2 separate regions of the Homo sapiens genome follow, and region 1 is linked to region 2. The links are contacts of gene promoters, found by promoter capture Hi-C in blood cells and fetal thymus (Javierre and others, 2016). All regions are on one chromosome and are shown on one strand. The core of a region is centred on a gene start or on the middle of the fragment in contact, and the rest is flanking DNA. Distances in the headings are between cores, read along the strand shown.

What was found. Contacts are between HindIII fragments. The CHiCAGO score rates a contact against its expected background, and 5 or more counts as called.
Region 1: a contact is called between a fragment that was not itself captured here and the fragment with the promoter of PDSS2 in region 2, in 2 of 17 cell types (naive B cells and total B cells). The highest score is 6.3, in naive B cells.

What each region holds. Positions count from the first base shown.
Region 1 is chr6:108,052,035-108,057,312 of GRCh38, forward strand. OSTM1 (osteoclastogenesis associated transmembrane protein 1) reads right to left here. Exons shown (of 6, transcript NM_014028.4): 3 at 2,456-2,553. Among named protein-coding and RNA genes, the nearest start is that of OSTM1, 20 kb to the right of the region's middle. The HindIII fragment of the contact is 1,714 bases long and covers 979-2,692 here.
Region 2 is chr6:107,456,392-107,462,265 of GRCh38, forward strand. It overlaps PDSS2 (decaprenyl diphosphate synthase subunit 2), which reads right to left and starts at 3,173. Exons shown (of 8, transcript NM_020381.4): 1 at 2,599-3,173. The coding sequence starts at 2,894. RefSeq lists enhancers at 3,044-3,493, 3,214-4,135. The HindIII fragment of the contact is 2,928 bases long and covers 597-3,524 here.

The DNA.
Region 1 (5,278 bases), core at 586-3,085, 590 kb after region 2:
GTTACCCTCACCATCTGCTTGACAGAAAAACTAAGTCTCTCCTTAGTCTGCTACAAGAAATAGCCCATTGCTTGTTTTTCACAGAACAATTGTGCACTTAGTTAAAAATTGAGCACAGGGCTGGGCGCGATGGTTCACACCTGTAAACCCAGCACTTTGGGAGGCCGAGGTGGGCGGATCACAAGGTCAGGAGATCGAGACCATCCTGGCTAACACGGTGAAACCCCATCTCTACTAAAAATACAAAACTTAGCCGGGCGTGGTGGCGGGCACCTGTAGTCCCAGCTACTTGGGAGGCTGAGGCAGGAGAATGGCGTGAACCCGGGAGGCGGAGCTTGCAGTGAGCCGAGATCGCGCCACTGCACTCTAGCCCGGGTGACAGAGCGAGACTCCGTCTCAAAAAAAAAAAAAAAAATTGAGCACATAATCCATTTAACTAAAATTGTGCACATAATCTAGATGGGGAGTAATTTAACCTTTTTTTTTTTTTTTTTTTTTGAGACACGGTCTTGCTATTTTGCCCAGGCTAATTTCTAACTCCTGGGCTCAAATGATCCTCCCACCTCAACCTTCCAAAGTGCTGGGATTACAGGCAGGTGCCACCATACCTGGCCACAATTTTTATTCAAATTTAAAATGCACATATCTTTTAATAATGTGAAAGTTGCAGACATTAGGATGAAATCACCTTTTGACAGACCAAGACAAAATAGAGACAAAAAGAGTCCTTGTTTCCAAAGACTTTCTAAAAACCCCACAAGAAATCCTTTCACGCCCTTCATTGCAACTCCTGCTTTCACATGGTTTATCACTGCCATTCTTTAGGACTGCAGTAATTCAGATAAGATGCACTCAAAAGAACACTTGCCCAGTAATGGCATCGCCACCAATGAACTGACAACTTGGCTTTGAGCCTCAGGAACCAATGAACTCAGTTTCCAAGCAGCTTGTGTGAACCTCTCCCTTTTTGCTAATAAAAGCTTCCCTTTACCCTTCCCTCACTGGATGTACTGGTGGTTTGCCAGTGCATTCCAAATTACCATACTTCTTTCTTATTCCCTAATAAACTCATCATATTTGGAGATAATTTTCTCTAGTGTCTTTTTCTTAGGCTGCCAATATAGTAATTCTACTTCTAGAAATCTACCAAACTCATACAAGTACTCTAAGTTAAATGAAAAGAAGACTGTTTATGGTGTACAATTTAAAACTTATTATTTCCAGAATTTTCCATTTAATATTTTTGGACTGCAGTTGGCCACAGGTAACTGAAACTGTGGAAAGTGAAGCCATATATAAAAGGGATGACTTTATAGAAAAATTGCTATTTGAGTGTTACAACACACATCAGTCCACTAAAGGCTCTGAAGTCCTGTAGTAAAGCATTTCCCAACCTTAATGGAATACTAAACCCTTTCTGATAGGACATCTATTAACATGCTGCAGAACAAATTCTGAGAAATGTTCACCTAATTTTTTTTATTTTATTTTTTTGAGACAGAGTCTCTCTGCAACGCCCAGGCTGGAGTGCAATGGCACGATCTCAACTCACTGCAACCTCTACTTCACTACAGGCGTGCACCACCAAGCCTGGCTAAGTTTTGTATTTTTAGTAGAGACAGGGTTTCACCATATTGGCCAGGTTGATCTCGAACTCCTGACCTCAAGTGACCTGCCTGCCTTGGCCTCCCAAGGTGCTGGGATTATAGGCATGAGATACTGCACCTGGCCCAATTTTTATTATTCTCAAGGAAATTCATAATTCAGTGTTACCACATTTATTACAGAAGAAATCATACATGCTTATACCCTAAGCATGTGTACATCTACTATGGGGATTACTTACTTGTTATGTAAGTTTCAAAACTACATTTTAACCAGAGTTCCAACCTCGTCCTTCACCACGACCGGGCAAGTTCCAATACCAAAATTCAAGAGTCAGAGATAGAGATGGCAATAATCTACAAGGTTAAGATTCTTAAAGCTACCTTTTATTATCATAATTCAATACTCAAAGTTATCTTACTAAACAGTGCTTTTTAAGGTAGGTAAAACATACTTAAGCAAATTTCAGGCAAAGAATAAACTTCCTATAGACAGAATCATACTACACTGCAAAATACCTACGTAAGTCAGATTGAAAACCATTGTGTTTTAATTAAACAATCACACACCTCAATCAATGTTTTCACAATCATTATCTCACCAGATTCTCATTACAAAATACTTTAAGATAGGCAGGATAGATATTATCTCCATTTTACAATGAGAGAACTGAGGTTTTCATGATTTGTAAGTAGAAGAACTTACTTAAGAGCAGAAATCCAGGTCCACTAACTCCTTTACATCATGAATTTAGATAAATATCAATAATTAGTGCTCTAAAAACTTGGAACTGCACATTATTCCTTTGTACAAGGCAGCATTTTAATTTTAAATATTATATATAAAATACCTGAAGGTTATGTTCAAAGCAGGTCAGGGTGTGATTAAATAGATTAAGGAAATATACTGTGCTGTTTGATAATTCTTCACTGTTGTTTGTTAAACAATCTGTCAAAAAAATTCAAAAAGTATATTAATATAACTCAAGGAACAATTCTATGTTGTCATTTATATCTTAAGCTATCAGCTTCGTTTCACACTACAGTAATTCTTTATTCAAACAAGCATGAATTTTCCAAATATATGAAGCTTACTCCTTTTATTTTCCAAAAGTTAAAAAAGTCATAACCATTTTCATGAACATGTTAAAATAATCACATACTCTCTTTTCATAAAAATATACCAAATAAAATTCAAATGGACTTTTGATGGCACAAGGTCATAATCACGGAATATCAGCTATCAAATGCTGCCTTAACAGTGCTATTTAGGCATAAGACTGTTTACCCTGCATTAATTTTACCGAAACTCATATGCCTTATCATTTTTTGTGTCAAATTTCATAGTTCTCTGCATCTTCCAACTTCACTAATGAGTCATTTATTGTACCTAATGGGGTAACTTTTAAAATTCGCTCTTTCTAATCCATCACGAGTTGGGAGCCCAGAGAAACAAACTGGTGAGAATTTTGCCTAAAATACTGACGTGGGGGCTTCAAGTAAAGTCTAGAAACAAAATTGTTTTACATTTTTAAAAATCCTACATAAATGGTATTTCTCTGCAACTGGCTATTCTTGCTTAGAGTTAGCTCAAGTTCACTCATCCCTTTTATTTTCTATGTATGTGTATATCACAATTTATGTATCCATTTTCCCTTCTTCAGGGAATAATCTATTCTTCTTTTTTTTTTTAAGAAACGGGGTCTTGCTCGGTTGCCCAGGCTGGAGTGCAGTGGCACAATTTGCCAGCTCATTGCAGACTTGAACTCCTGGGCGCAAGTGATGTTCCCACCTCAACCTTCCAAAGTGCTGGGATTACTTAAAGGCATGAGCCACTGCGCTCAGCCAGGGAACCTAGTCTTTATCCTCAGGTAAACCTTTGTCTTTACCTCTCCTTGTGTTCTCAGCCTGCTATCTCCAATCGAGGTTCAACTGCCTGGTTCCAGATCTTGGAACTTGTGGTCAGTCGTTTCCATCTGACTCTCCTAGAATCCTTGCCCTCTTTATCTTCCACATATTCACAGCCATTTTCATCCCTGGACAGTCCCCATCTACTTTCTGTACTCTCAGTCTGGTTACAGAATACTACTACAGAAATTCTAAAATGATAATGAAGGGACTCAATTCAAATTCATGTGTTCTGATCTCGGGGCAACAAAATGATCCTTGTAGATGCCCTCCTAATTGCTCTGCAAGGGATGTTCCACATATTTTCTCATCTCTAGTCCCAGCCCTACTCTTGTTCCCCTTAATTTCAACAGATGGCTTTGTATTATGCCCACCTTATTTAGAAATTCAGGGCCATCAGATAGGATCTCTCTCAACTGGAAGTGGAAAGACAACATGCAAAGCTATTGCAATTACCCAGGAGAAAGGCAGCAAGGCAAGTAGAATTTGTGGAGAAAAGAGAGACGGACTAGGTAGACACTAGGATATGACACACTAAGGGACATCCATGTACTCTGACAGACAACAATTACTACAACGAAAGTTAACACTTACTAAATACTTGCTATGTTCTAAGAACTATGCTTACACTGCACTTTAAACACATTTGCCCATTTAATTCTTGCAGTGATTCCATGAGGGAAAAATTATCATTATCTCCATTTTATAAATAAGGAACAGAGATAGGTTTAGATAAATTAAGGAAGTTGCCCAAGGACATAAAACTGGTAAGTAAAAAGCTAGACTCTGTACTCAGTCTGATTCTTGAGCCTGCACTCTCAAACACTGCAAAATAAACATATTTATATCTACATTCTAAACCATTAAAAGTTCAAGACTCGGAATCTACAAATACATGCCACTGCCTACTCCCTCCACTACCCATAGATATCTTACACCATACAGGGATTCAGGCAGTCCCCACCAACTGATCAGAGTTAGCAACTGAGATGAAACCTAAACCTGGTAGACAGGGGCAGACAGCACAGTAAAGCTCCTTTGTGCAAATCAGAAAAAGATATTCCCTCTGGGTAGATAAATTACAAAAGGTCATTCCTGCCTCCAGAAGCTAAGCTGGAATTCAGCCCCATTCACCTCCTTGTACAGCCCCCTTGTGCAGGGCTCCTTCTGCACCCATTGTACACAGGATCCTCTTGGTAAACCTATTTCAGGAGTTGTCCCCTCTCTGAACTCACATACTCTACATTCTCTGAAGCTTTATCTTCTCCAGAACATGAATCTCATTCTAACTTCTCACCCTTATTTAAAAAATCTGAGGGATCACTACAAATTAGGAAACTAAGCCACAGAAATAGGTGATATGCTGATGATCATACCACAAGTTAATAAGCCATTGATATAAAAATAGGCCAGCATGGTGGTTCACACCTGTAATCCCAGCATTTTGGGAGGCAGGTGGATTGCCTGAGTCCAGGAGTTCGAGACCAGCCTGGGCAACATGGTGAAAACCTGTCTCTACAAATAATACAAAATTAGCCAGGCATGGTGGCGTGCATCTGTGGTCCCAGCGGCTTGGGAGGCTGAGAGGGGAGAATTGCTTCAGCTTGGGGAGGTCGAGGCTGCAATAAGCTGTGATTGCGCCACTGCATTCCAACCTGCATGAAAGAGTAAGAACTTGTCTCATTGCCCCTCTTAATGCTAGTTTAATATCATCATGAAGTAGCCCGCAATCCTTTTAGGGATGAGGCAGAGTTGATATAAATAAA
Region 2 (5,874 bases), core at 1,923-4,422:
TAATGAACTACAGTTAAACACACAACATGGATGAATCTCAGAAACCATGAATTTTAAAAAGGAAGTCACATAAGGTCATATGCAATAAACTATCATATTTGTACATTGCAAAGAAACCAGTAAAATGAAACATTATTATTTAGAAAAATAACAATGTAATTTTACTTATTTCATTTTATTTTGAGACAGGGTCTCTTGCCCAGACAGGTGTGCAGTGGCACAATCACGGCTCACAACAGCCTTGACCTCCCAGCTCAAGCAATCGCAATCCTCCCAAGCAGCTGGGACTACAGATGTGCATCCCCACGCCCAACTAATTTATTTTATTTTTTGTAGAGATAGGGTTTTGCTATGTTGCCCAGGCTGGTCTCGAACTCCTGGGCTCAAGCAATCTTTCTACTTTGCCTCCCAAAGTGCTGGGATCACAGACATGAGACACCACACCAGGACCCCTGGTAATTTTGAAAAGGAAAAGTGTTTAAAAACAGTTTAGTGGGAGTCAGGGAGATGGACTGAGGAGTACACATTTAGCTTCAACAGGACTGGTAAAGTTACAATTCTTAAGTTGGGTAATAGTAGGCTTATTCGTTTCATTAAGCTTTAAACATATGTGTATGTGTTTTGAGTGTGTATCATCTAGAATCTCTGGAAAACTAACATTCCAGCTAATCATAAGGTGACATTCCTGATAACTGGGAACGATGCCAAGGAATAAAATCACTTTATTATTACTATTTGATAACTTTTGTAGTAAGAAAATGACAGGTGCCTCGAAAAATTAAAGCAAGGGGTGGGTAAGGGAAGTGAGTGTGGCTAAAAAAGCAACATGAGGAATCCTTATAGTGCTGAATATGTTCTTTATCTTAACTGTATCAACATAAATACCCTGCTTATGATATTACACCATCGTTTCAAAAGATGTTACCATTGGGAGAAACAGGGTTAGGTGTATATTAGATTTGTGTTATTTCTTCCAACTGCATGTAAATCTAAAACTACTTCAAAATAGAAGTTTACTTTTAAAAACAACAATAGAAAAAGGTCCTTTTAGTCCTGGATTTCTCCACCTTGGCACTACTGACATTTTGCAGCACCTAATTATTTCTTGTGGGTCTGTCCTGGGAATTGAAGGGTAGCATCCCTGGCCTCTATCCACTAAATGCCAGTAATGTGCCTCCATTCGTGACAACCAAAAATGTCTCCATACATGCCAAATGTCCTCAGGGGGGGAAAATTGCCCCAGTTGAGAACCAGTGCTCTAGTCATAAAAGCCAAGAAGAGATATGAAAATGTTCCTAATTGAAGAAGATGAAAGAGATATAACAACTAAACGCAATACTTGATCCTGGACTGAATCCTGTCCTGGAGGGTAAAGAATGCTATAAAGAACATTATTAGGCCAATTAACAAAATTGAAATTAAATGGTAGATTAAATAAAAGTATTGTATCAATATTAAATATACCTAAGTTGGTAACTGTAGCGTACTTACGTAGGAGATTACTGCTATGCTTAGGAAATACATACTGAAGTATTTAGGGGAAAAGGATCGTGATGTATGCAATCTACCATCAAATGATTCAGAAAAAAATATATAGAAAGATATATACACGTGAATAGTATATATATCTGTGTGTATATGTATTTAATGTATATATTGACATATATAGACATATCTACGTAGCAGGTGGATCTGATTAAAGAGTATGCAAGTGTGTTCTTTGAACTATATTATTTTTGTAACTTCGCTGTATGTTTAAACTAATTACAATTCAGGTGTGGGGTTTAAGTGGAAGAAAAAAAAAAAACTTTTGGCCGGGCACGGTGGCTCACGCCTGTAATCCCAGCACTTTGGGAGGCCGAGGCGGGTGGATCACGAGGTCAGGAGATTGAGACGATCCTGGCTAACACGGTGAAACCCCGTATCTACTAAAAATACAAAAACAAAATTAGCCGGACGTGGTGGCGGGCACCTGTAGTCCCAGCTACTCCCGCCTGGGCGACAAAGCGAGACTCCGTCTCAAAAAAAAAAAAAAAAAAAACTTTTATAAATCCTAAAGGCAGGTTTCACAGCAGTAGTACAGCATAAGTGATAAACATCCCAAGAAGATAATGACTACTAACGGGATAAATTCCTACTTCAACCCCAAGACATTCGTTGGAAAGAATTATCTACCTTCAGCCTCTCTCTCTCTCCTTGCCTACTTTCTGGAGGTGACCCCCTGAACAGTGCGGGACAGAAAATTAATCTATCCCATTAAAAAAAAAAAAAATTTCTAGGAAGTGACTCAATAAACCTACATCTCCGCTCGATTTCTCCACAAATCACTGAGGCATCTTCATCCTCAACAATTAAGAAGCAAAATCGAGGAAAGCATACAAGTGTTTCAAAGAAAACCACTTATGCACTCAGCTGAGCAAGAACGTTAAGTGGACTAGAGAAGAGACAACACGGAATGTCTAGGAGGAGTGAGTAAAAAGGAAGGACTAAAAAGAGATAAATCAGGAGCCAGTCTGAGAGAGCTAGAATGCGTATGCCCGCCAGAAAAAAAAGTATTCCAATGAGTGCGAGTGTGTCAGCGGGAGAGGGGTAGCTCACCTGGCTGTGGTAAGCAGAGGGTGCTGAGTGCCCACCAGCTTCCGCACCTGCATAGCGATGTTGCTGAGCTCGTCGCTCAGCAGGCAGCGAAGGCTCATGAAGGACGTGGGGTACCCCACGATCTTCTCCGCCTCTGACACTACCTGATTCCAGTGGGCCGGGGACTTGGAGGACCGACCACGCCAAGAGCCCACCGAGGAGATGGTGTCGAGGGACGGGGACCACCACAGGCGACGCGGGGAACCCGAGGCTCCAAGATAACGTGGCAAGTGCAACAGCAGCTGCCGAAAGTTCATGGTTTGAGTCTGGAAGGGTCTGGGACCTGGGGGTATCCAGAAGTGCCGCGGGAAACAAACCAGGGGCAGAGGAGGAACTTACAGTAACTAAAAGGAAGCGGCAATTCTTGACCCTCAGAGTAAGGTGGCTTCCTGGAGCAGTGACCAGAAACGAACTTTAACTGCTGCTTTCTGCAGCCCAGGCTGGGCAAACAACAGTCCCAGCTCAGCACTGCCCCCGGCCACCCGGGGTAGAAACCACAGCCACTGCCTATGTGGAGGACGCCATATTGGAGGCATGGAATGCGGCCTGCCGTAAAGACAGAGGCGGGTTGTTAAGTATACTCTCTACTTTACGGCGTACCCGAGAACGCCCCCGCAGGGGCGGTGCTTTGGAGGTGAACCCGGGTTGGGAGGTTCAGCTCCTCCCACCCCGCCGCTCTGGGCCAGCAAAGGTCGTCAGTGACAGGGATCAGTTGTGGGCGGCGAGTGGTCCCTCTGCACACGGTATCTGGGCCGAGTCTGGATTCATTAGAGTCCCCGGCGCCCAGCACTGAGTGGCATGCATAAGTATTGGTGTCACGAACAACGGTCAGCCCCCGGCTTGCCCGCAAGGAAGGGCGTCGGGCGGAGGCACCAGTTCCTCCCGGAAGCTTTTTGTCGCTATCGCCACCAGCCCCTGGCAGTGGCAGTGGCCGTGGCCGGGCGTGAAGGCGGCCTCTCGGGCTGCATGCCTCCTGGAGCTGGGGCCACGTCTCAGTGGTGGAACGCCTAGTCGGGGCGTGGGGCTGAGCCCTCGTGTCCTCAGGGCCCAACCAGACATAAGGCAGCGTGGTGCGGCGGAAAGGGGTCCCAAGGAAAGTCCTCGGATCCAACTTCGAATTACCGGCCTCCTCGCTGAGCCTTGGGAGAAACAGCGGTGCCTCCTTCCCGCGGGTGCGGAGAGGAAGAATGAAACGTTGCCTACTCCCTGCCTCTTATCTTCCTCTTTATGCCTAGCCTGGAGCTCAACTCCAGGATTGAAGACTATCGCTGACCGGAGTGCTTTTCACGTACTAGTTCATGTATTACTTTATTTAATCCTCAGAACAACCTCATTAAGTAGATAATATTAGTATTCTCCGTGTTTTGTATGAGGAAACTAAGGTGCAGTCGAGTCGCGTAAGTTCCCTAAGACCACACTAGACAGGGATGTGAGCCCAGACAATCTGGTTTCAGAATCCGTATTCTAACCGAAAGATTACACCGTCTAAATAATAGGCTCCCATCCACTCTTTTCTCCTTATTGCTGAGAGGAAACAGTCAATATGATTATCTTTTAAGTAATGCTACCTATTTTTTTTTCAAATGTGCCTAAGATCTTACCTCCTTTCTTATCACCTAAAACAGGTGTTAACCGTTCTTAATAAAGGATATATTATCCATTTTTTACACTCTTAAAAATAGCTTATAAAACTCTCTAAAACTTTCAAAATCCTTCCAAATTCATGGTATTTTATTTTTATTTTTTATTTATTTTTTGAGATGGGTCTTGCTCTGTCACCCAAGCTGGAGTACAGCGGCGCGATTTCAGCTCACTGCAACCTCCGCCTCCCAGTTTCAAGCAATTCTTGTGCCTCAGCCTCCCAAGTGGCTGGGACTACAGGCGCCTGCCACCACGCCCGGCTAACTTTTGTATTTTTAGTAGAGACTGGGTTTCACCATGTTGACCAGGCTGGTCTCAAACTCCTGACCTCGAGTGATCCGCCCACTTCGGCTTCCCAAAGTGCTGGGATTACAGGTGTGAGCTACCAGCTACCATGCCCAGCCTGTCAGTATTTTTTAAATGAGCATCATGCATAATACTGTACCAGCCTCTTGAGCTACAAATAAAGATTGGGACTTAAAGAGTAGTTGTTCACTTTGCAAAACAAGATGATTTTCTCTACAAAAGATTTAGCTTCATACTCTCCCTTTGGCAAGTTTTCCTTGTGATTTAAATTTTTTATTTACAAAAATTCAGTTTAGGTGTAACTTTTCAGGGGCACATTTTATTTAACATGAATTGTGATTATAAGTATCAAACACAGTCTATGCCCTTAAAGTAAGTAAGCTGAAGTTTGAAAATAATTCCTGTGAAAGAGATAAACTCTTGGCAACAAAATTCAGGTCTGTTAGGAGATGAAAATAAATATGGAGAGTGAGATACTTTACCATTCCAGGAGATGAAAATAAATATGGAGAGTGAGATACTTTACCATTCCAAAAAGTTCCAAGGCCAGAGCTTCTGGGTTATCCAAGGTGAAAGAAGTCATGAAAATACAAAGATAGATAGAGACTAATGTGATATATTGTGCACCTGAGGCTGTTTCTTCAGCCTCATGGTACCTTAAGGGTAACTTTTCACGCAATTTCCTCAATAGCAATTCACAGCATGTACTTTAATTTCTCCACAGAAGCCAAGTGCATTATTCTCTGGTCATACTCTATTAACCAAGTTTTTGATTATTCATGGGACTTTGGGTCCCATTTACTTTAAATAATCAGCATTTTCCTTTATACTTACAGTTAAAAGGTTGCATTATACTTAATGATAATCAGTTTTTAGAAGGTTAAAATGGTATTTGTTCTTTAATCTCCCAGATAAATATATAATTCCTTAGAGTCTTTATGATTAAAGAAATTTCTGAATTGCTAGTGACTTTTGGAGAAACAGGGAGGGGGAGTATCTGTGATTCTGCCCTTCCTCTGCCACTGATAATAGTTATATTAAAGATGTCTGTGAATGTGTGCATAAAGAAAGAATACAGCAGGATTTCTCAGCCTTGGCATTTTTGGCGTTTTGGACCAGATAATTCTTTGTTGGGGGAAGGGGGGCAGTCCTGAGTATTGTACGGTGTTGAGTAGCATTCCTGACCTCTACGTACTAGATGTTAAGCAGCACCCCTTTCCAAGTTGTGACAACGAGGTATGTCTCCAAACATTACCAAATGTCTGTCACCCTGGAGTGCAAAATTGCCCA